Linked DNA regions of Homo sapiens: regions 1, 3, 4, 5, 6 and 7 are each linked to region 2. The links are contacts of gene promoters, found by promoter capture Hi-C in blood cells and fetal thymus (Javierre and others, 2016). All regions are on one chromosome and are shown on one strand. The core of a region is centred on a gene start or on the middle of the fragment in contact, and the rest is flanking DNA. Distances in the headings are between cores, read along the strand shown. Region 1 has its middle 11 kb from the start of ZP2. Region 2 holds the start of CDR2 (cerebellar degeneration related protein 2). Region 3 holds the start of LOC105371125 (a long non-coding RNA gene). Region 4 has its middle 33 kb from the start of CRYM. Region 5 overlaps ZP2 (zona pellucida glycoprotein 2). Region 6 has its middle 24 kb from the start of LDAF1. Region 7 overlaps CRYM (crystallin mu).

Evidence for each region. The method cuts DNA at HindIII sites, captures the fragments that hold promoters and counts their contacts. A CHiCAGO score of 5 or more calls a contact.
Region 1: a fragment that was not itself captured here is called in contact with the fragment with the promoter of CDR2 in region 2 in 1 of 17 cell types (erythroblasts); the score reaches 5.3 in erythroblasts.
Region 3: a fragment that was not itself captured here is called in contact with the fragment with the promoter of CDR2 in region 2 in 2 of 17 cell types (erythroblasts and fetal thymus); the score reaches 10.5 in erythroblasts.
Region 4: a contact is called between a fragment that was not itself captured here and the fragment with the promoter of CDR2 in region 2, in 1 of 17 cell types (erythroblasts). The highest score is 7.6, in erythroblasts.
Region 5: a contact is called between a fragment that was not itself captured here and the fragment with the promoter of CDR2 in region 2, in 1 of 17 cell types (erythroblasts). The highest score is 5.4, in erythroblasts.
Region 6: a fragment that was not itself captured here is called in contact with the fragment with the promoter of CDR2 in region 2 in 2 of 17 cell types (erythroblasts and M0 macrophages); the score reaches 9.7 in erythroblasts.
Region 7: a contact is called between a fragment that was not itself captured here and the fragment with the promoter of CDR2 in region 2, in 1 of 17 cell types (erythroblasts). The highest score is 10.2, in erythroblasts.

Annotation. Positions count from the first base shown.
Region 1 is chr16:21,220,812-21,223,511 of GRCh38, forward strand. No RefSeq gene overlaps it. Among named protein-coding and RNA genes, the nearest start is that of ZP2, 11 kb to the left of the region's middle. RefSeq lists enhancers at 1,348-1,872, 1,873-2,398. The HindIII fragment of the contact is 4,138 bases long and covers 1-2,700 here.
Region 2 is chr16:22,373,195-22,375,894 of GRCh38, forward strand. CDR2 (cerebellar degeneration related protein 2) reads right to left here and starts at 1,425. Exons shown (of 5, transcript NM_001802.2): 1 at 1,037-1,425. The coding sequence starts at 1,115. It overlaps CDR2-DT (CDR2 divergent transcript), which reads left to right and starts at 1,693. Exons shown (of 3, transcript NR_148970.1): 1 at 1,693-2,029; 2 at 2,133-2,366. RefSeq lists a silencer at 958-1,187 and enhancers at 1,728-1,807, 2,148-2,197. The HindIII fragment of the contact is 4,746 bases long and covers 1-2,276 here.
Region 3 is chr16:21,288,250-21,291,046 of GRCh38, forward strand. It overlaps LOC105371125 (a long non-coding RNA gene), which reads left to right and starts at 2,221. Exons shown (of 3, transcript XR_950905.3): 1 at 2,221-2,253. It also overlaps a transcript of CRYM not described here. The HindIII fragment of the contact is 3,512 bases long and covers 1-2,797 here.
Region 4 is chr16:21,309,659-21,312,492 of GRCh38, forward strand. It overlaps the pseudogene ABCA15P. Among named protein-coding and RNA genes, the nearest start is that of CRYM, 33 kb to the left of the region's middle. The HindIII fragment of the contact is 2,518 bases long and covers 49-2,566 here.
Region 5 is chr16:21,198,761-21,201,514 of GRCh38, forward strand. ZP2 (zona pellucida glycoprotein 2) reads right to left here. Exons shown (of 19, transcript NM_001376232.1): 14 at 2,609-2,754; 15 at 983-1,118; 16 at 810-906; 17 at 19-102. Among named protein-coding and RNA genes, the nearest start is that of ZP2, 11 kb to the right of the region's middle. The HindIII fragment of the contact is 6,462 bases long and covers 1-2,754 here.
Region 6 is chr16:21,181,408-21,184,107 of GRCh38, forward strand. No RefSeq gene overlaps it. Among named protein-coding and RNA genes, the nearest start is that of LDAF1, 24 kb to the left of the region's middle. The HindIII fragment of the contact is 1,183 bases long and covers 707-1,889 here.
Region 7 is chr16:21,269,903-21,272,677 of GRCh38, forward strand. All of the region lies in intron 3 of CRYM (crystallin mu), which reads right to left. Among named protein-coding and RNA genes, the nearest start is that of CRYM, 7.0 kb to the right of the region's middle. The HindIII fragment of the contact is 3,636 bases long and covers 1-2,775 here.

The sequences.
Region 1 (2,700 bases), core at 114-2,613, 1.2 Mb before region 2:
CCTGTGAGACAATGCCTTAAGGAGGTTCTATTTTGGTATATTTTGAAGATTTGTTTCAAGATTTTGAGCTACTTTTAGCAGTTCTTGTAGTGCTGGCTTGGTAGTGGCAAATTCTCTCAGCATTTGTTTGAAAAAAAACTGTGTTTTTCCTTCATTTATGAAGCATAGTTTCACTGGATACCAAATTCTTGGCTGATAATTATTTTGTTTAAGAAGGCTAAAGACAGGACCCCAATCCCTTCTAGCCTGTAGGGTTTCTGCTGAGAAATCTGCTGTTAATCTGATAGTTTTTCCTTTATAGGTTACCTGATGCTTTTGCCTCACAGCTCTTAAGATTCTTTCCTTCATCTTGAATTTGATCATTATGTGCCTACATGATAATCTTTTTACGGTGAATTTCCTGGGTGTTCTTTGAGCTTCTTGTATTTGGATGTCTAGATCTTTAACAAGGCCAAGGAAGTTTTCCTCAATTATTCCCTCAAATATCTTTTTCAAACTTTTAGATTTCTCTTCTTCCTCAGGAATGCCAATTATTCTTAGGTTTGGTCATTTAACATACTCCCAAACTTCTTGGAGACTTTGTTCATTTTTAAAATCCGTTTTTCTTTGTCTTTGTTGGATTGGGTTAACTCAAAAGCCTTGTCTTCGAGCTCTGCAGTTTTCTTCTACTTGTTTGATTCTTGTTGGAGAATACCTGGATACTCATTTGGTTGTCTTTATCCTAGATGGGTATGTGGGTTTGCCTATGCTGAGGTTGTTTCAAGAACCAAGAGAAGTCAATATTGTAAGAGATTAGTGGTATGTGTATGTGTATGTTTATGCATGCATATAGATACATATATATGTTTTTCTAGAGTAGCTTGCATATAAAGGGGCAGTGATATAGCAAGAAATAAGCTGCTGTTTTTAACTATGGCAGGACTCTGCTTGTTCAGAGAGTGTGTAAGATGCCCACACAGCAATGACACTATGGGATGAAGGGGTGCCCTGCCCCTCCAAACCTGTGGGTGTTTTCTTGTCGGGTGGGATGAGAGACTAAGAAAAGAAAGAGACACAGAGACAAAGTATAGAGAAAGAAAAGTGGGCCCAGGGGATCGTCGCTCAGCATACGGAGGACCATGCCGGCACCAGTCTCTGAGTTCCCTTAGTATTTATTGATCATTATCTCTACCATCTCGGAAAGGGGGATGTGGCAGGACAATAGGGTAATAGTGGGGAGAGGTTCAGCAGGAAAACATGTGAACAAATGTCTCTGTGTCATAAACAAAGTTAGAAAAGGTGCTGTGCCTTGATGTGCACATACAGAAACATATCTGGTGCATTAAAGAGCAGTATTACCGCCAGCATGTCTCACCTCCAGCCTTAAGGCAGTTTTCTCCTATCTCAGTAGATGGAACATACAATCCGGTTTTACACTGAGACATTCTATTGCCCAGGGACGAGCAGGAGACAGGTGCCTTTCTCTTATCTCAACTGCAAAGAGGCCTTCCTCTTTTACTAATCCTTCTCAGCACAGACCCTTTACGGGTGTTGGGCTGGGGGACAGTCAGGTCTTTCCCTTCCCGCGAGGCCATATTTCAGACTATCACATGGGGAGAAAACTTGGACAATACCTGGCTTTCCTAGGCAGAGGTCCCTGCGGCCTTCCGCAGTGTTTTGTGTCCCTGGGTACTTGAGATTAGGGAGTGGTGATGACTTTTAACAAGCATACTGCCTTCAAGCATTTGTTTAACAAAGCACATCCTGCATAGCCCTAAATCCATTAAACCTTGAGTCAACACAGCATGTTTCTGGGAGCACAGGGTTGGGGGTAGGGTTACAGATTAACAGCATCTCAAGGCAGAAGAATTTTTCTTAGTACAGAACAAAATGGAGTCTCTTATGTCTACTTCTTTCTACATAGACACAGTAACAGTCTGATCTCTCTTTTCTCCACAATGGGACCAGGATAAAGTGTTACTAAAACACATAGCAGCTAATTTTGCTCTGCGTGGCCACTTCTGTATCCTTGGCTAACCTGGGAAATTATCCTGCAAGTGTGTGTGTGTTCTTTCTACTGATCAGTAATTCAACTGCAATTGGGCAATATGCAAGTTTGCTTAAGTCTTATAACCCTGTGAGTGCAGGTGTAAATATCCCCATATCCCCAAGAGAACAGCCTTTTTAATGCTTGAGAATTGGCCAGACATGCTGGAAATGGGGACTAGAAGAGCTTTCACACAGGCGCATAATATGTATTTGGTGACTGATTGGCACAGAAGGAAATGAGGGAGGGTTAGGATGTAACTGATGTGAGAGGAAATGATAGGACATTGTCACACTCAAAAGGCCATTCGACATGGTTACTGGAGCAAGGCAAATACTGTACATGAGTGAAGTCGGTTGGGTGCAAGGAAATGGCTTTAGTGTGATGAGAATGGCAAGTGACTAACTATTGCCCTCAGGGTCAGGATTACAGCTCTGGGCAGCTGGGGGTGATGTGGACTGTTGAGTCCAGGCTGCATCTAAAGAAATAACTGCTTTGGCTGGGCACAGCGGCTCACACCTGTAATCCCAGCACTTTGGGAGGCCAAGGTGGGTGGATCCCCTGAGGTTGGGAGTTCGAGACTAACCTGACCAACCCGGAGAAACCTCCTGTCTACTAAAAATACAAAAAAATTAGCCGGGCATGGTGGCGCATGCCTGTAATCCCAGGTACTC
Region 2 (2,700 bases), core at 175-2,674:
TGCTATTAGTATAAGAAAAACAGGGGCCCCACTGGCCCCAAAGAGTGGGCTACTCTACGATTGTTCTCTGGAGACACCATCGGCAGGCCTGTTTCTAAGTGAAAGCTGGCGTGCAAACTGAAGAAAAGTGGCAGAGATAGATGCGCTCTTTCTTCTGTCGTTTCAATTGGCATCTGGTGAACTATGCCTAACAGCTTAACGCCCAACTGAAAAAAACTGTAAACTAGGATGGTAAGGAAGAGATGGGGTTTGAGCAGTGACTACAACTCTTCTTCTGAGTGTGTGGGTTCAAAAAACACTCCCTCCCACACTTAGCTTTAGGCAAGCCACTTTACCGTTTTAATCTCCGCTTTCCTCATATGGAAAATGGGATAACAAAAGTGTGTAATTGGATTGTTTGTACCTCAATGGATAAATGCTGGGATGGACGCCCCGTTCTCCATCACGTGCTTATTTCACACTGCGTGCCTGTATCCAAACATCTCATGTACCCCACAAATATATACACCTACCATGTACCCTCAAACATTAATTTTTAAAAAGTTACTGTCTCCTGGAGTTACGGTGCGGAGCGCACAGCTCCCGCTACGCCGCAAAACAACTACCACCTGCAGCAGCCGGCCCTCCACGCTGGCCATGAAAGGCGCTGGGCTAGACAGCCTGCGACGGGGCGGCTTCTCGGGCTATGCCACTTACTGCGGGACACACTGGCTCACCCGGGTCTGCCTCGGAGGAATGCAGTGAGGATTAAACTAGCTAATCCACGGAAAGCGCTTAAAACGGTGCCTGGCTCGTCCCTGGCCCCCACGCGCCTCGGGGCTGATATTCAACTGCGCATTAGCAAGGCCGTGGGCCCCGTGCCGAGGCTTCCTGCGGGCGGGATCCGCGGGCACGGCCGGCCCAGCCGCCAGGTGAGCCTGAGCCCTTCCCGGCACCTGCATCCTCCGCCGCCACAAAAAGCAACTTTTTAACAGTTTCGCAGCGGGGGCCTCCCGGGCCAGGCCGCCGCCCGCCCGCGGGGCGCCCCCGCCCTCACCTTGCTGGAGGTCCTGGTGGTCGTACCACGGCTCGTCCTCCTTCATCTCAAACTCCTCTACCAGGTTTTCCGCCAGCATCTCGGCTGGGTCTTCTAGGGGCAGCGGCCCCCGCCGCCGTCCCGCCTCAGCCGCTGCCCCGGGCTCTTCCCCGGCCCCTCCGCCCTCAGCCAGAGCCGCCCTCGGGCGGGACGCGCCGCCGCCCAGACTCCGCTGCGCCGCCTCAGCCCCGTTCCCGCCGGCGGCCGCCGACCGGCCGGCTGCCTCGACTCGCCTCGCGCCTACCGACGGCCCCAACGGCCGGGCATTACGGTGCGAACGCCTGGAGCCGGAGTCTCACGCAGCCGCCAGTCTTCACGCCGCCGCCGGGCCCAACGTGGCACTTTGGCAGAACCCTCCCCGGCCGGGGATGCGATTCAAACCCCCGGCGGCGCCTCAACCAATCGCGAGCGGGCTGCTGGCCGAGCGGCAGGGACTTCGTCCAATCGCCTCTCTCCAAAGACCGGCGGCTCGCCCGGTATCGAGGGCAAGCAGCCAATGGTGGGTCCGGAATAAACAAAGAAGGCGGGGAAAGAGTGAAGGGGTGCGGCCGAAAGCCCGTCCCCTGATCTGCGCTGTGAGGCTCCTAGGAGGGCGTTCTGGGTTTCGGGCTGGGGAGCTGGCAGAGGCGCGTCTTACCCCTGTGGTGGGTGTCCCGAGGCCGGCGCGTCTGTGGACAGGCAACGCAGGCCGGAGGGCCTAGGACTCCGGCCTCTGAGAGGCGGGCGGTTGTCCAGGGGAGTCCTTCGTGCCGGCGGGAAGCGCAAGGGTGCCGGAAGCCTGAGGTCCGCCGCCCGGCCACCCCTTCTCGCATCTTGACTCTGAGATTTGCTCCGGGTCCGGCGGGGAGACTCGAGGTCGATCGGGAGTTTGGGTTGAGAAAACGCCCACTGAGCGGTAGCTCTTGTCTCCTTGACATCTGAGCCCTGGGAATTAAACTCACGCTACATAAAACGGTGGGCACCAGACCCCCTTGAGAATCTGGGGCGGTGAGGGATGCCCGAAGCTGTCCACTTGGAGGGCGAAAATTGTAAGCAGTGTTGCAACGATTTTTAAAAGGTACCCCTAGACCACAAGTTAAGCATCTGGGGACGTGACATTGCACCTGGAGGGGACAGGCTGCAGCTCCAGCACTTAGTAGCCAGCGAGGCAGAGCACGCTGTCCTCCACCGACATAACCCAGCAAATACTGCTCCTAGGTAAAGCTTTAAGCACCATCTTGCAGACAAAGCACGGAAACTCTTAAGCAGGATGACAGACCTGAAGGTCAATGTTCTCAACCTTGACGTAAAGGTAAAGGTGCAGCTGATGGAAGACAACAGGGCCAATATCTAACTAACTTTGAGCAACGAAACAAAAAAAAATCGAGGTTTAAGTATACAATTGAAAGATTATCTCTAGAACATGAGGTAATAAACTGTTAGAAATTCAGAGAGAGGGAAGAGGTGGAGAGGAGTGTTAAATCCTGATCTATTTTAGAAGTGAGTCGACAGATAATACCTTACATTGATAATCCAATGAATAGTTTCCACAAATATGGAGAGAGCTGCCAGAACTAAAAATGGGAAGCAATTAAGAGTTTTCCGAGGCTGGACACGGTGGCTCACGCCTGTAATCCCAGCATTTT
Region 3 (2,797 bases), core at 288-2,787, 1.1 Mb before region 2:
TTGCTGAGAGGTTTTTAGTTACTAATTAAATATCTTATTATAGGTCTATTCAGATATTTTACTTGTTCTTGAGTTAGTTTTGTAGTTTGTGTGTTTCTAGAAATGTGTCCTTTTCATCTAGGTTATGAATTGTGTCCTTTTCATCTAGGTTATCAATTGCCCTACATTTGTTCATAGTATTCTCTTGTAATGTTTTTTAATTTTTGTAAGATTGGTAGTAATGTCTTCTCTTAGTTTCCTGATTTTAATAATTTGAGGCTTCTTTCTTATTTTGGTCAGTCAATATAAAGGTCTTTGATTTGTGTTGATTCTTTAAAGGGATTGTATATTTTCCCTGGCCTGTTGTTTTTACATTCTCTATTTATCTCTGTTTTAGTCTTTATTATTTCCTGCCTTCCACCGGCTTTGGGTTTGGTTTGCTCTTCTTTTTCCAGTTTTTAAGGTGGAAGACTAGATTATTTATTTGAAATAGTTTTAAATGTAAGAATAAATGTGAAAAAACTAAACTGCTTTTCTTATAAGTTTTGGTATACCATATTTTTGTTTTCATTCATGTCAAAGTATTTTCTAATTTCCCTTATGATTTTTTATCTGACTCATTTGTTGCTTAAGTTTGTATTGTCTAATTTACACATATTTGTGTATTTTCAGATTTCCTTCTGTTACTGATTTCTAATTTTGTTCCATTGCAGTCATAATAAGATGCTTCATATTATTTCAGTTTTTTATAATTTATTAAGACTTGTTTTGTGGCCTAATTAATGGTCTGTCCTGGATAATTTTTTTATGTACACTTGAGAAAAAAATGTGTATTTTGTTATTGTTGGGTAGAGTATTTTATATATACCTTTAGGTCAGGTGGTTTATTTTGTTGTTCATATCTTATATTTGTTTGATCAATGTAGTTGTTCTATAATTATTTAAAGTGGGGTATTGACATCTCCAACTACTATTGTTGAAAGCCCTTAAATCTGTCAGTTTTTGCTTCATATATTTTAGGGCTGTGTTGTTAGGACCATATATGTTTGTTACTGTTGTATCTTCTTCATGAATTAACCCATTTAATAGTATATAATGTCCTTCATCTCTTATAACCGTTTTTATCTTAAAGCCTATTTTGTCTGACATTAGTAGAATCATTCCAGCTCTCTTTTGGTTACCGTTTGCATTGAATATATTTTTCTGTCTTTTAAACTTTTATTTGTGCCTTTAAATTTAAATTGAATCTGTTGTAGGTAGCATATGGTTGGATCATGCTTGTTAAAATCCATTCTGCCAATCTCTATCCTTTAATTGGAGCAGTAATCTATTTATATTTAATGTAATCACTGATAGGGAAAGACATACTTCTACCATTTTGTCATAAGAATGTCATAAGAATTTACATATTAGGTGCAAACTTACCCTCTACCTCCTCACTCAGGTGACACCCTCTCTTCTGTCAAAGTGAGAGTTGAAGCCAGCTGGGCTGCTGGCACAGGTGCCCGGCTTTTATTCCCTTATTTGGCCCTGCCCACATCCTGCTGATTGGCCCATTTTACAGAGCGCTGATTGGCCCATTTACAGAGTGCCGATTGGTCCATTTTACAGAGTACTGATTGCCAGCTGGGCTTCTGGGTGGAGTGGGGACTTGGAGAACTTTTGTGTCTAGCTAAAGGATTGTAAACACACCAATCAGCACTCTGTAAAATTGCACCAATCAGCACTCTGTGTCTAGCTAAAGGATTGTAAATGGACCAATCAGCACTCTGTAAAATGGACCAATCAGCACTCTGTAAAATGGACCAATCAGCACTCTGTAAAATGGACCAATCAGTGTTCTGTAAAATGGACCAATCAGCAGGATGTGGGTGGGGCCAAATAAGGGAATAAAAGCTGGCCACCAGAGCCAGCAGTGGCAATGTCGGATCCCCTTCCATGCTGTGGGAACTTTTTTCTTTTGCTGTTCACAATAAGTCTTGCTGCTGCTCACTGTTTGGGTCCACACTACCTTTGTGAACTGTAACACTAACCACGAAGGTTGTAGGCTTCATTCCTTAAGTCAGTGAGACCACGAACCCACCGGGAGGGACAAACAACCTGGATGTGCCACCTTTAAGAGCTGTAACACTCACTACAAAGGTCTGCAGCTTCTCTCCTGAGGTCAGCAAGACCACAAACCCACTGGAAGGAAGAAACTCGGGACACATCTGAACATCTGAAGGAACAACTCTGGACACACCATCTTTAAGAATTGTAACACTCACCGCAAGGGTCCGTGGCTTCTTTCTTGAAGTCAGCGAGACCAAGAACCCACGGGAGGGAACCAATTCTGGCCACAAAAGCATCTTACAAATATGCTTTTTGCTCAGACTTATAATTTCATCTTTTTTTCCAGTAATTTGAACTCAGTCTTGAAGTCTTACAGTGACAGTTCAGAGCCTTACCTCTTAAACATGTTTCTTATTTACTCATATATATTCATAAACTGTTATACATATTTAATTTAGTATTTAGAGGAATCTCAGCATCAAGTTTGTTTCTCTGAGGATGTATGTCCTTTCAACTGATGATATATTCCTTATCCTCTTTCCACTGTTGAGTCCTAGGCTACATTTCCTATCACATCTTTGCTTTTTCATTGGTTATATAAAATAAACGGTATGAGAAATAATCAGCATTGGTTTCTTGTTCGCATGAGATGACAGGAAGACAGATGATATGGACATCAGCTTTCCCAAAAGGATTTTCCAAAGCTGTAATTATCAACACAAACTATGTTTCAAGAAATCAGGGGTAGTATACTTTATGCTAAAAA
Region 4 (2,834 bases), core at 58-2,557, 1.1 Mb before region 2:
TCGTAAGAGTGGACATCTTTGTACCTTTCCTGAGATACTTTTGGAAAAAGCTTTCTATTTTTTACTCTTGTGTATGATATTAATGGTGAGCTTGTCATATATAGTCTTTATTGTGTTGAGTTACATTCCTTCAGTGCCTAATATGGTTAGAGTTTTTATCATGAAAGGATATTGAATTTTGTCAAATGCTTCTTCTGCATCTGTTGAGATAATATATGGTCTTTGTCCTTTATTCTGTTAATGTGGTGTATTAATATTTACTTGCATATGTTGAACCATCCTTGGATCTCAAAGATAAGTCTCACTTTATTGTGGTGAGTGAATGATCCTTTTAATATGCTGTTGAATTCAGTTTGCTAGTATTTTGTTGAGGATTTTTGCATCTATGTTCATCAGGGATATTAGCCTGTAATTTTTTTTTTTTTTTTGAGATGGAGTCTCACTCTGTTGCCCAGGCTGGAGCGCAGTGGCATGATATCAGCTTACTGCAACCTCTGCCGCCTCCCACGTTCAAACAATTCTCTTGCCTCAGCCTCCCGAGTAGCTGGGATCACAGGCATGTGCTACCATGCTCAGCTAATTTTTGTATTTTTAGTAGAGATGGGGTTTCACCACGTTGGCCAGGCTGGTCTCAGACTCCTGCCCTGCTCATCTCGGCCTCCCAAAGTGCTGGGATTACAGTCATGAGCCACCGTGCCTGGCCAGCCTGTAATTTTCTTGTATGTCCTTGTCTGGCTTTGGTGTCACGATAGTGCTGGCTTCATAAGATGTGTTTGGAAATATTTTTTCTTCAACTTTTTGGAGTTTGATAAGGATTGGTCCTATTTCTTATTTAAATGTTTTGTAGAATTCAGCCCAGAAGCCATCTGATTCTAGGCTTTTCTTTAATGGGAGACTTTTTATTACTGATTCAATCTTTTTTTTTAATCAGTCTATTTGTTATCAGTCTGTTGTCAGTCTATTTTATCAGTCTGTTATCAGTCTGTTCAGATTTTCTTTTTCTTTGTGATTAATACTTGGTAGGATTAATACAGGTAGGAATTTTTTCATTTCTTCTAGGTTATCTAATTTGTTGACATAATTGTCATCATAGTCTCTAATGATAATTTGTATGTCTGTAGTATCCATTATAATGTTTCCTTTTTTATTTCTGATTTTACTTGAATCTCCTCTCCTTTTTTATTAGTTATTCTAGCTAAAAGTTTGTCTGTTTTATCTTTTTCACAAGTTTTGTTGATTTTTTTTCTATTGTTTCTTTAGTCTCTATTTCATTTATTTCTGCTCTGATCTTTATTTTATCCTTCCTTCTGTGAACTTTGTGCTTAGTTTGTCCTTGTTTTCCTAGTTCCTGGTTTTCTAGTTTCCAATTGTAGTTCCTATACCTAGTTTCTAGTTATAATGTTAGGGTGTTTGAGATCTTTCTTCTTTTTTGATGTAGATGTTTATTGCTATAAACTTCACTCTTAGAACCATTTTTGCTGTATACTATATATCTTATATATTTTTGTATGTTGTGTTTCCGTCTTCATTTGCCTCAAGATATTTTTAAATGATCCCTTTAATTTCTACATTGACCCATTGGTTGTTTGGGAGAATGTTGTTTAATTACCATATGCGTCTGCATTTTCTGAAATTCTGTCTATTTTTGATTGTTAGTATAATACCATTGTGGCCGGAAAAGGTATTTGAAATGGATTTCAGGCTTCATAAATTTATTAAGATTTATCTTGTGGCCTAACATATGAACTCTCCTGGAGAACGTTCTGTGTGTGCTTGAGAAGAATGTGTACAATTGACCCCCCCATATCTGTGTGTTCTACATCCACAGATTCAACTCTGGGCCAAAAATAGTAAAAAAATAATAATATGATAATAATGCAAATAAAAAGCAATACAGTGTAACAAATATTTATATAGATTTTATATTAGGTACTATGAGTATCTAGAGAAAATCTGAGGCATAAGGAGTATGTGTGTAGATTATATGCAAATACTACACCATTTTATATAAGACATTGAGCATCCATGGATTTTGCTATCCTCAGGGGTCTAGAACTAGGCATTAGCATTGTGCCTAGTTGGGGCTTACCTGTAGCCTGTGTCCACTGGTGCCAGCCTGGAGGCTGGGTGTATGGTTGCTAGTCCAGAAGCTAGGTCTGTGAAGAACTGAGTCCTGGAGCCATGGTAGTGTCCCCAGAATTGGTGGGTTCTTGGTCTCACTGACTTCAAGAATGAACCCACGGACCCTCGCGGTGAGTGTTACAGCTCTTAAGGTGGCGCGTCTGGAGTCTGTCCTTTCTGATGTTCAGATGTGTTCGGAGTTTCTTCCTTCTGGTGGGTTCGTGGTCTCGCTGGCTCAGGAGTGAAGCTGCAGACCTTCGCAGTGAGTGTTACAGCTCTTAAGGCAGCGCGTCTGGAGTTGTTCGTTCCTCCCGGTGGGTTCGTGGTCTCGCTGGGCTCAGGAGTGAACCTGCAGATCTTCGCGGTGAGTGTTACGGCTCATAAAAGCAGCGTGGACCCAACGAGTGAGCAGTAGCAAGATTTATTGCAAAGAGCGAAAGAACAAAGCTTTCACAGTGTGGAAGGGGACCCGGGCGGGTTGCCAATGCTGGCTAGGGCAGCCTGCTTTTATTCTCTTATCTGGCCCCACCTACATCCTGCTGATTGGTAGAGCTGAGTGGCCTGTTTTGTCAGGGCGCTGATTGGTGCGTTTACAATCCCTGAGCTAGATACAAAGGTTCTCCACGTCCCCATCAGATTAGTTAGATACAGAGTTTCGATTGGTGCACTCACAAACCTTGAGCTAAACACAGGGTGCTGATTGGTGTGTTTAC
Region 5 (2,754 bases), core at 255-2,754, 1.2 Mb before region 2:
CAGGCTTTAGGTCCATACCTCTGAATGAGGAGTCATCTGACAACAGGAGAATGGGTCCTGGGAGGCTGACTGTCATTTTCTCTGCTTCAGTGGCCCCTGTGGCTGGAGACAGATGATCAAGTTTGTGTTTGGCCTCTGGAATAGTGGTTCGAGAGGTGTGTCAATGGAATGCTTAGAAGTAGAAGCTCTCTGGAGTATTTTGTTCATGTGGTTTGTCTTGCCTTTGCAGGCGAGGTTATGCCCTTTACTGTAGAAGTGGGATGGATTCTTGGGGTTGGGTGTGGTGGCTCATGCCTATAATCCCAGCACTTTTGGGAGGCCGAGGTAGGTGGATCACCTGAGGTCAGGAGATTGAGACCAGCCTGGCCTGGCCAACATGGTGAAACCCTGTCTCTACTAAAGATATAAAAGTTAGCTGGGTATGTTGGGGGGGTTCCTATAATCCCAGCTACTTGGGAGGCTCAGGCAGGAGAATCATTTCCCTTGAACCCTGGAGGTGGAATGAGCCAAGATCACACCATCTTACTCCAGCCTGGGCAACAAGAGCAAAACTGTCTCAAAAAAAAAAAAAAAAAAAAAAAAAAGGATAGATTCTTAAAGAACTCATCGTCTATAGAACTAGACAAGAAACTGTTCATCTTAGACCTGTCACATGAGTAAGGTAGACTGGACCAAGTTTTGACTGGGCCAACAAGAGCTCTGGGCAGTAAATAAAGTATGAGTTATACCAGTCCTTAAGATCTTCTATTCTAAAAAGTTGATACTTGCTTTGAATTAGACTCACAGAAACAGGAATTTGAAGTTTTTACCTCGCCTGTGCCTAGAGGACACAGGGCAGGTCACAGAACACAGTGGGGAGTCAGGGGAGAGTCGATTACAGATTAAGGCACTGCAGTGGAAGTAGACCTGGAGACAGAAGAGAGTTACATGGAATCGATGCACTAACATTTAACCTGTCCCTGGTGACTTCTGAATCACTTACCAGGCTAGAGAGCACGTGGGCTTCTGATACAAAGGCAAAAGCCTTCATGTCAAACCTCTGATAGTGATCAGGATGGGTCACAGAGGAGCCGACTGGATGGAAGGTGGTCTGGTAGTTGTCCAGGTCATATGCACAGCTAGGAGGTATGCACCAGGGAGGGATGTCAGTCATATGCATCTTGGAGTCAAATTCAATGTCTGCCCAGATTTAGTCATACGTAATATCTTCAGAACTATTGCCATATTTACCTTCTACCAGCACCTTTGTTTTACTCAGCATTTCTTACCTGACCTATAATACCTATGAAATCATAAGTTGTATAGACTAGTTATATTTTAACTATTTTAGCAGTACCTGTTTGCCAACTACATGAGAAGTACAAATTATATCATTTCAGAAGACACTGGTTTCTTGGCCAGGTGCAGTAGCTCACACCTGTAATCCCAGAACTGTGGGAGGCTGAGGTGGGCAGATCACCTGAGGTCAGGAGTCTAAGACCAGCCTGGCCAACATGGTGAAACCCCGTTTCTACTAAAGATATAAAAATTAGCTGGGCATGGTGGCAGGCACCTGTAGTCCCAGCTACTTGGGAGGCTAAGGCAGGTGAATCGCTTGAATCTGGGAGGCGGAGGTTGCAGTGAGCTGAGATTGTGCCATTGCACTCCAGCCTGGGGGACAAGAGTGAGACCTCGTCTCAAAAACAAAACAGAAGGCTTAGTAACTGAGCTACCACAGCTTCAAGAAAGCAAAGGTGCAGTTTTAGCCAAGTACACACTATTCCATAAGAATGGGTGAGATCCAGTTGTAGGACAGGACACGGCAGGAGAGCTGTAAGGTTGAACACCTATGTGTACAAGTGTGTGGCTGCAACCTCAGAGCATCAGTGCTCAGATTCTAGAGTCAGATGGATATTCTAATACAAGCTCCATTGTTTAAGTATTGTTTTGGGCTGGTTATTTAGGCAGCAAGCTGGGGTTTCTTCATGAAAGACGAAGACTAGTACAACTAGTGGATGTGGAATACATAGCACTGTGCCTGGCATATGGTAGGTGTTCAGATGGATAGAGGCTAGAGACCAGTCTTTCCAGATGATCAACACCATAGTAGAGTCAGACTTTCTGGGGCTTTGGAACTCATTCCTTAAGATTCAAGAGGTGATTGGAAGGCAGCATGTGGCCAAGTGTGGTGGTTCACACCTGTAATCCCAGTACTTTGGGAGGCCAAGGTAGGTGGATCACCTGAAGTCAGGAGTTCGAGACCAGCCTGGCCAACATGGCAAAACCCTGTCTCTACTAAGATAGCAAAAATTAGCTGGGCTTGGTGGTGTGCCCCTGTAATCTCAGCTACCCAGGAGGCTGAGGTAGGAGAATTGCTTGAACCCAGGAGGCAGGGGCTACAGTGAGCTAAGATCATGCCGCAGCACCCCAACCTGGGTGACAGAATGAGACCCCATCTCAAAACAAAAAAAAAAAAAACAGAAGGCAGAAGAGTCCCAATTAGAAAACAAGGACTAAATCTGGATCTCACATGACTGAATGCTGCTCTAAAGCCCAAGAGGGTTTATTCCCATTACTGGCAAGTTTTGATGGATTAGCTGGGTAACCTGATAGTACAGGGAGTACCTACCCATCCACGACAACGTTCCACTGGGGGAAAGAGTCTGGATCCATGGTGGACGTCGCCCAGCAGTCATCTAAGACCAGCTTGATGTTGGGGTCATCCCTGTTTAGGACTCTCACTTCCATGTAAATTGGTTGGCGGAGGAATCTCAC
Region 6 (2,700 bases), core at 48-2,547, 1.2 Mb before region 2:
CTATTGGCTTAAAAGAACAGGCATTTCTTATCTCACATTCTTCATGTGTTAGGGGTCCAGGCATGGCTTGGCTAGATCTTTTGTAAGCCTGTGATCACAGTGTCATCAGGGCTGTGTTCTCATTTGGGGTCTGACTGGGGAAGGACCACATTCCAAGCTCACATGGTTGTTGGCAGCATCCAGCTGGCAACACGACTTAAGCCCTCCATTCCTTGCTGCATATTCCCCTCCCCATGACAGTTCAGTGTGGTCAATGGCTTCTTCAAAGCCATCAAGGGAGAGCCTCTCAGCAAGATAGACGTTACATTCTTAGGGAACGTAATCATGCATGCACAATCATGAACACTGGATCACTTTATCTGTGTTCTGCTGGTTAGAAACGAGTCCCAGAAACCACCACCCACTCTCATGAGGAGGGGATCACCCAAGGGCAGGTAAACCACAGAGGGGACCATGGGCTCTGCCTTAAGAGTCCTTACTAGGGTCCTTAGTAGTCCACCTTGCTACAACAAGTAAACAAAATATTAGACCAACTCCGCTGAAGATAAGTAAAAGGGTGGTAAGTAATTGGGAGAGCATGCTTTAGCCACAGCAATCAGAGATTTCTTCTATTTGAACCAAAACATGAGTTGTCACCATGCCAAGCACACAGGGAGGGTGTTCCTAGCAGAGGGCACAGTATCCCAAAGGCCCAGAGATGGGAAGAAGCTTAATGTGTTTAAGGGAAAAAAATGATGTCAGCATGGCTGGGCCTCATCATGCAGGACCTCATGGAGTGAGTTTACACCAGGGGTCCCCAACCAGTACCGGTCCTTGGCCTGTTAGGAACCAGGCCATACAGCAGGAGGTGAGCAGCAGGTGAGCAAGCATTGCTGCCTGAGCTTCACCTCCTGTCAGATCAGCAGTGGCATTAGATTCTCATAGGAACATGAACCCTCATGTGAACTGCACATGCAAGGGATCTAGGTTGCATGATCCTTATGAGAATCTAATGCCTGATGATCTGTCACTGTCTCCCGTCACCCCCAGTTGGGATTGTCTAGTTGTAGGAAAACAAGCTCAGGGCTCCCACTGATTCTACATTATGGTAAGTTGTGTAATTATTTCATTATGTATTACAATGTAATCATAATAGAAATAAGCTGCACGATAAATGGAATGCACTTGAATCATCCTGAAACCACCCCCCTACCCACGCCTCATCCATGGAAAAATTGTCTTCCACAAAACTTGTCCCTGGTGCCAAAAAGGTTGAGGACCACTGGTTTATGCCAAAGAGCAAAGGAAAGACAATGAAGAATCTTACATGGGAGAGTGACGTGATCAGACTTGGGTTTTTAAAGATCACTCCATGGCCAATGGATTTAAAGCAGGAAGGCTAGTTGGGAGGTCTATGGAGGCCCAAGAGCAGAGAGGATAATTGTGACTTAAAACTTACACTAGGCTGAGCACAGTGGCTCATGCCTGTAATCCCAGCACTTTGGGCGGCCAAGGATCACTTGGGGTCAGGAGTTCAAGACCAGCCTGGCCAACATGGTGAAACCCCGTCTCTACTAAAAATACAAAAATTAGCTGGGTGTGATGGCGGGCACCTGTAATTCCAGCTACTCAGGAGGCTGAAGCAGGCAAATCACTTGAACCTGGGAGGTGGAGATTGCAGTGATCTGAGATCGCACCACTGTACTCCAGCCTAGGCGACAGAGCGAGACTCTCTCTCAAAAAAAAAAAAAAAAAAAAAAAATTAGGGCAAATGTAATGGAGACCTTCCTCATTTTGAGGGCCAGCAGCACTTGGTGATGATGGAGAAGGAAAGGGGGACACAAGGTGGCACCTAGGTTTTTAGCTTGAGCCAGTAGTGGATAGTGACACTATTGTAGGAGTGAAGGACAAGCTTCCTCTCTACCCTCTGAAGGATCCCTGAAATGAACTGGCAATAGACAGATGAACAGGAGAAAAGGCATATTCAAATTTATTAACATGCACATGAACACAGGAGTTCCAAAAATATGAGACTCAAAGAAAGGCCAAATGATTGAAACTTACATAGAGGGAGATGGGGGAAATGTAGGCAACTTGAAGGATTGTAAATGATTTTTAGGGGAATTGAATGGACCCAAAGAGCAAACCACAATGAGATACCATCTGAAACCAGTCAGAATGGCTATTACTAAAAAGTCAAAAAATAACAGATGCTGGCGAGTTTGTGGAGAAAAGGGAATGCTTACACATTGCTGGTGGGAAAGTAAATTAGTTCAGTCACTGTGGAAAGCACTATCACAATAGCAAAAATGGAATCAAAAAATGTCCGTCAATGGTGGATAAAGAAAATGTGGTGCCATATACATCACAGAATACTACACAGTTATAAAAACGAATGAGATTGTGTCCTTTGCAGCAACATGGATACAGCTAGAAGCCATTATCCTAAGTGAACTAATGCAGGAACAGAAAACCAAACACCATATGTTCTCACATATAAGTGGGAGCTAAACATTGGGTACATATGGAAATAAAGATGGGACCAACAGACATTGGGGCCTACATGGAGGTGGAGGGTGGGAGGAGAGTGAAGATAAAAAAAACTATTGGGTACTATGCTTATTACCTGAATGATAATCTGTACACCAAACCCCTGTGACATGCAATTTACCCATGTAACAAACCTCCACATGTACTCCTGGAACTAAAATGAAAGTTAAA
Region 7 (2,775 bases), core at 208-2,707, 1.1 Mb before region 2:
AAATGAAGTGGCAAAGGTCAAGGGAGACCCTAGCAGACGGGTAAAAAACTAAGATGGTTTGAGTATCAGGTGACTTCTGCCCTCTCTTCTGCCTCCCTCAAGAGCTTGCAGGCAATCAAGAGAATTTCCTTTTGTGTCTAGTTTCCCCCGTATCAAGTGGGAAAAGAAGGAAGAAGGCTTCACTGAACAGCTAATGTATGCCAATGCTTTGCCCCCATGATCTCATTTAGTCTAGACATTGACCCTACGAGTTGGGGACTCCTACTATCTTCTTCTTACAGATGAAGAGACTGAGGTTGCCCTGGTAACAGAAAGGTGAACTTGCTCTGGGTCTTACAACTACTTTTTAAAATTATTTATTTATTTCTTTTTCTTTCTTTCTTTCTTTTCTTTTTTTTTGAGATGGAGTCTCGCTCTGTCGCCTAGGCTGGAGTGCAGTGGCACGATCTTGGCTCATTGCAACCTCTGCCTCCTGGGTTCCAGTGATTATCCTACCTCAGCCCCCCGTGGAGCTGGGATTATAGGTGTGCGCCACAACACCCAGCTAATTTTTGTATTTTCGATAGAGATGGGGTTTCACCATGTTGGCCAGGCTGGTCTCAAACTCCTGACCTCAGGTGATCTGTGCACCTCGGCCTCCCAAAGTACTGGGATTACAGACGTGAGCCACCGCACCTAGCCAGGTCTTACAACTATTGAAGGGCACAGTGTGGCTCTAAAGTCACGTCTTCCATACTCCAAAGCCCATGTCCTTTCTTCATATCTCAGGTACATGCTCAGCCATACCCACTTCTCAGAGCTCTGAGCTGCTTCTAAGAGCTGCCTGGATTCTGTGAGCCCTTCCTTCCCAGGGTTCTAGCTATATTCACTGGGCCAACTCTGTTGATCTTTTCACTGCCTCTGTCTTCCTCTAAAGACGAATGTAGAATTAGCATTTGTGGCATCTCCTGAGGGTGTCTGTGTTTGAGAGCAGGATTCTGTGATCAACTCACGTCCAGTGCCACCTCTCCAATGAAGCCTTTCTGACCTCCTTGATAGAATGCACCAGGCCATAGCACTTATTTGTTTGTAGATTTTCTTCTACAGGTCTTTAAGCCCCATGAGGACAGAGGTAGTCTTATTTGCACAGAACTGGTACATACCTACTATGACCTACAAGAGGTAGCACTGGGCTTCTCAACCTCGGTACTACTAACATTTGGGCTGGACAATTCTTTATTGGGGAGGGGCACCAACCTGTGTATTATAGGATGTGCAACAGTATCTCTGGTTTCTATCCATTAGATGTTAGTAGCATTTTCCACCCCTTCAAGTTGTGGGAACTAAAAACGTCTGCACACTCCTAAATGTCTCTGGAGCAGGTGGCAAACTCATGCTCAGTGGAGAACCACTGGCATAGAGGAAAGACATCACTTGGCCCTCGACACCATATGTATTAAATAAAACCCTCTTCTGCCTTTTCTCTATTCCATTTAGTAAACTTTGAGTTCCCTGTGGTCTGTTCTTTTATAAAATGCTACTCACTGGAATTTTGGAGTATAATATTTAAAAAGTGAAAAGTCTTCTTAACTACTAATTACTAGCAAAACAGCATCTCTGAAATATTAGGAATTAATTTTATCTCCTGCAGCTACCGAAGGAGAGATACCATTCTGTGCCATAAAATATAGTTTAACGTCTCTGATTTGAAAAGGTTTCAAAATGATAATATCCACAAGACTAGAAATCTTATGTTGCTGTCTGATAAGGATAATTAGATTTTTTTCCTTAATTGTTACCATTTTCTTCTGTTCTCAGTTAATATGAATCTATTCTTGAAAGTACAGGTGAGCTTCAGAAATTGTTACAGTATCCCATAAAAATAACCTTCAACTTCCTAAACTAAATGTGTAATTCTAATTGGTTGTCTTACTTGATAATTTGTTGCCCTGGTAATAGTGTGATAATTGATATTTTTAAAATTTTTTTTTTTTTCCGAGACAGTCTCGCTTTGTCGCCCAGGCTGGAATGCAGCGGTGTGATCTCAGCTCACTGCAACCTCTGCTTCCTGGGTTCAAGCGATTCTCATGCCTCAGCCTCCCGAGTAGCTGGGATTACAGGTATGTGCCACCATACTTGGCTAATTTTTTTTTTTTTTTTTGGTAAAGATGGGGTTTCGCCATGTTGGCCAGGCTGGTCTCGAACTCCTGACCTCAAGTGATCCACCTGCCTCGGCCTCCAAAAGTGCTGGGATTACAGGTGTAAGCCACTGCACCCAGCCGATTTTTAATCATATGTTTATAAGATTTATTAAACAGCATTAGTGGCACTTCAATCTTTTCTCCTAAGCATGCAGGTTATTAAGTACACGTATATGAATCTGCTGGGTTTCTCATTTAAAGAGTCTGAAAGTCTGTTTCATTTGCATTTGCCAAGGCCTTGCATGGTCTGGCCCTCCTATCTCTAAAGCTGTCTCTCATACCACCATGCCATGTTCCCCTGCACTTCCTGTCTTCCAGCCATACTGGCTTCCTTGCAGCTTCCCAAGCTCATGTACTTCCTTCAACCACAGGGCCTTTGCATGAATTAATTCCTTGCCATACGATGCTAGGCTGCTTTGTCCCCTCTCCCCCTCACAAGTAACTGATTATCCTTCAATCTCAGCTCAAATATCCCCTACAGAGACACAGCCACAGGCTAGATCAAGACATACTGCTTTACACTCTTACAGCACTTGTCAGCGTTGTAGTTTCATATTTATTGGTGTGAATTTTTTTTTTTTTTTTGGAGACTGAG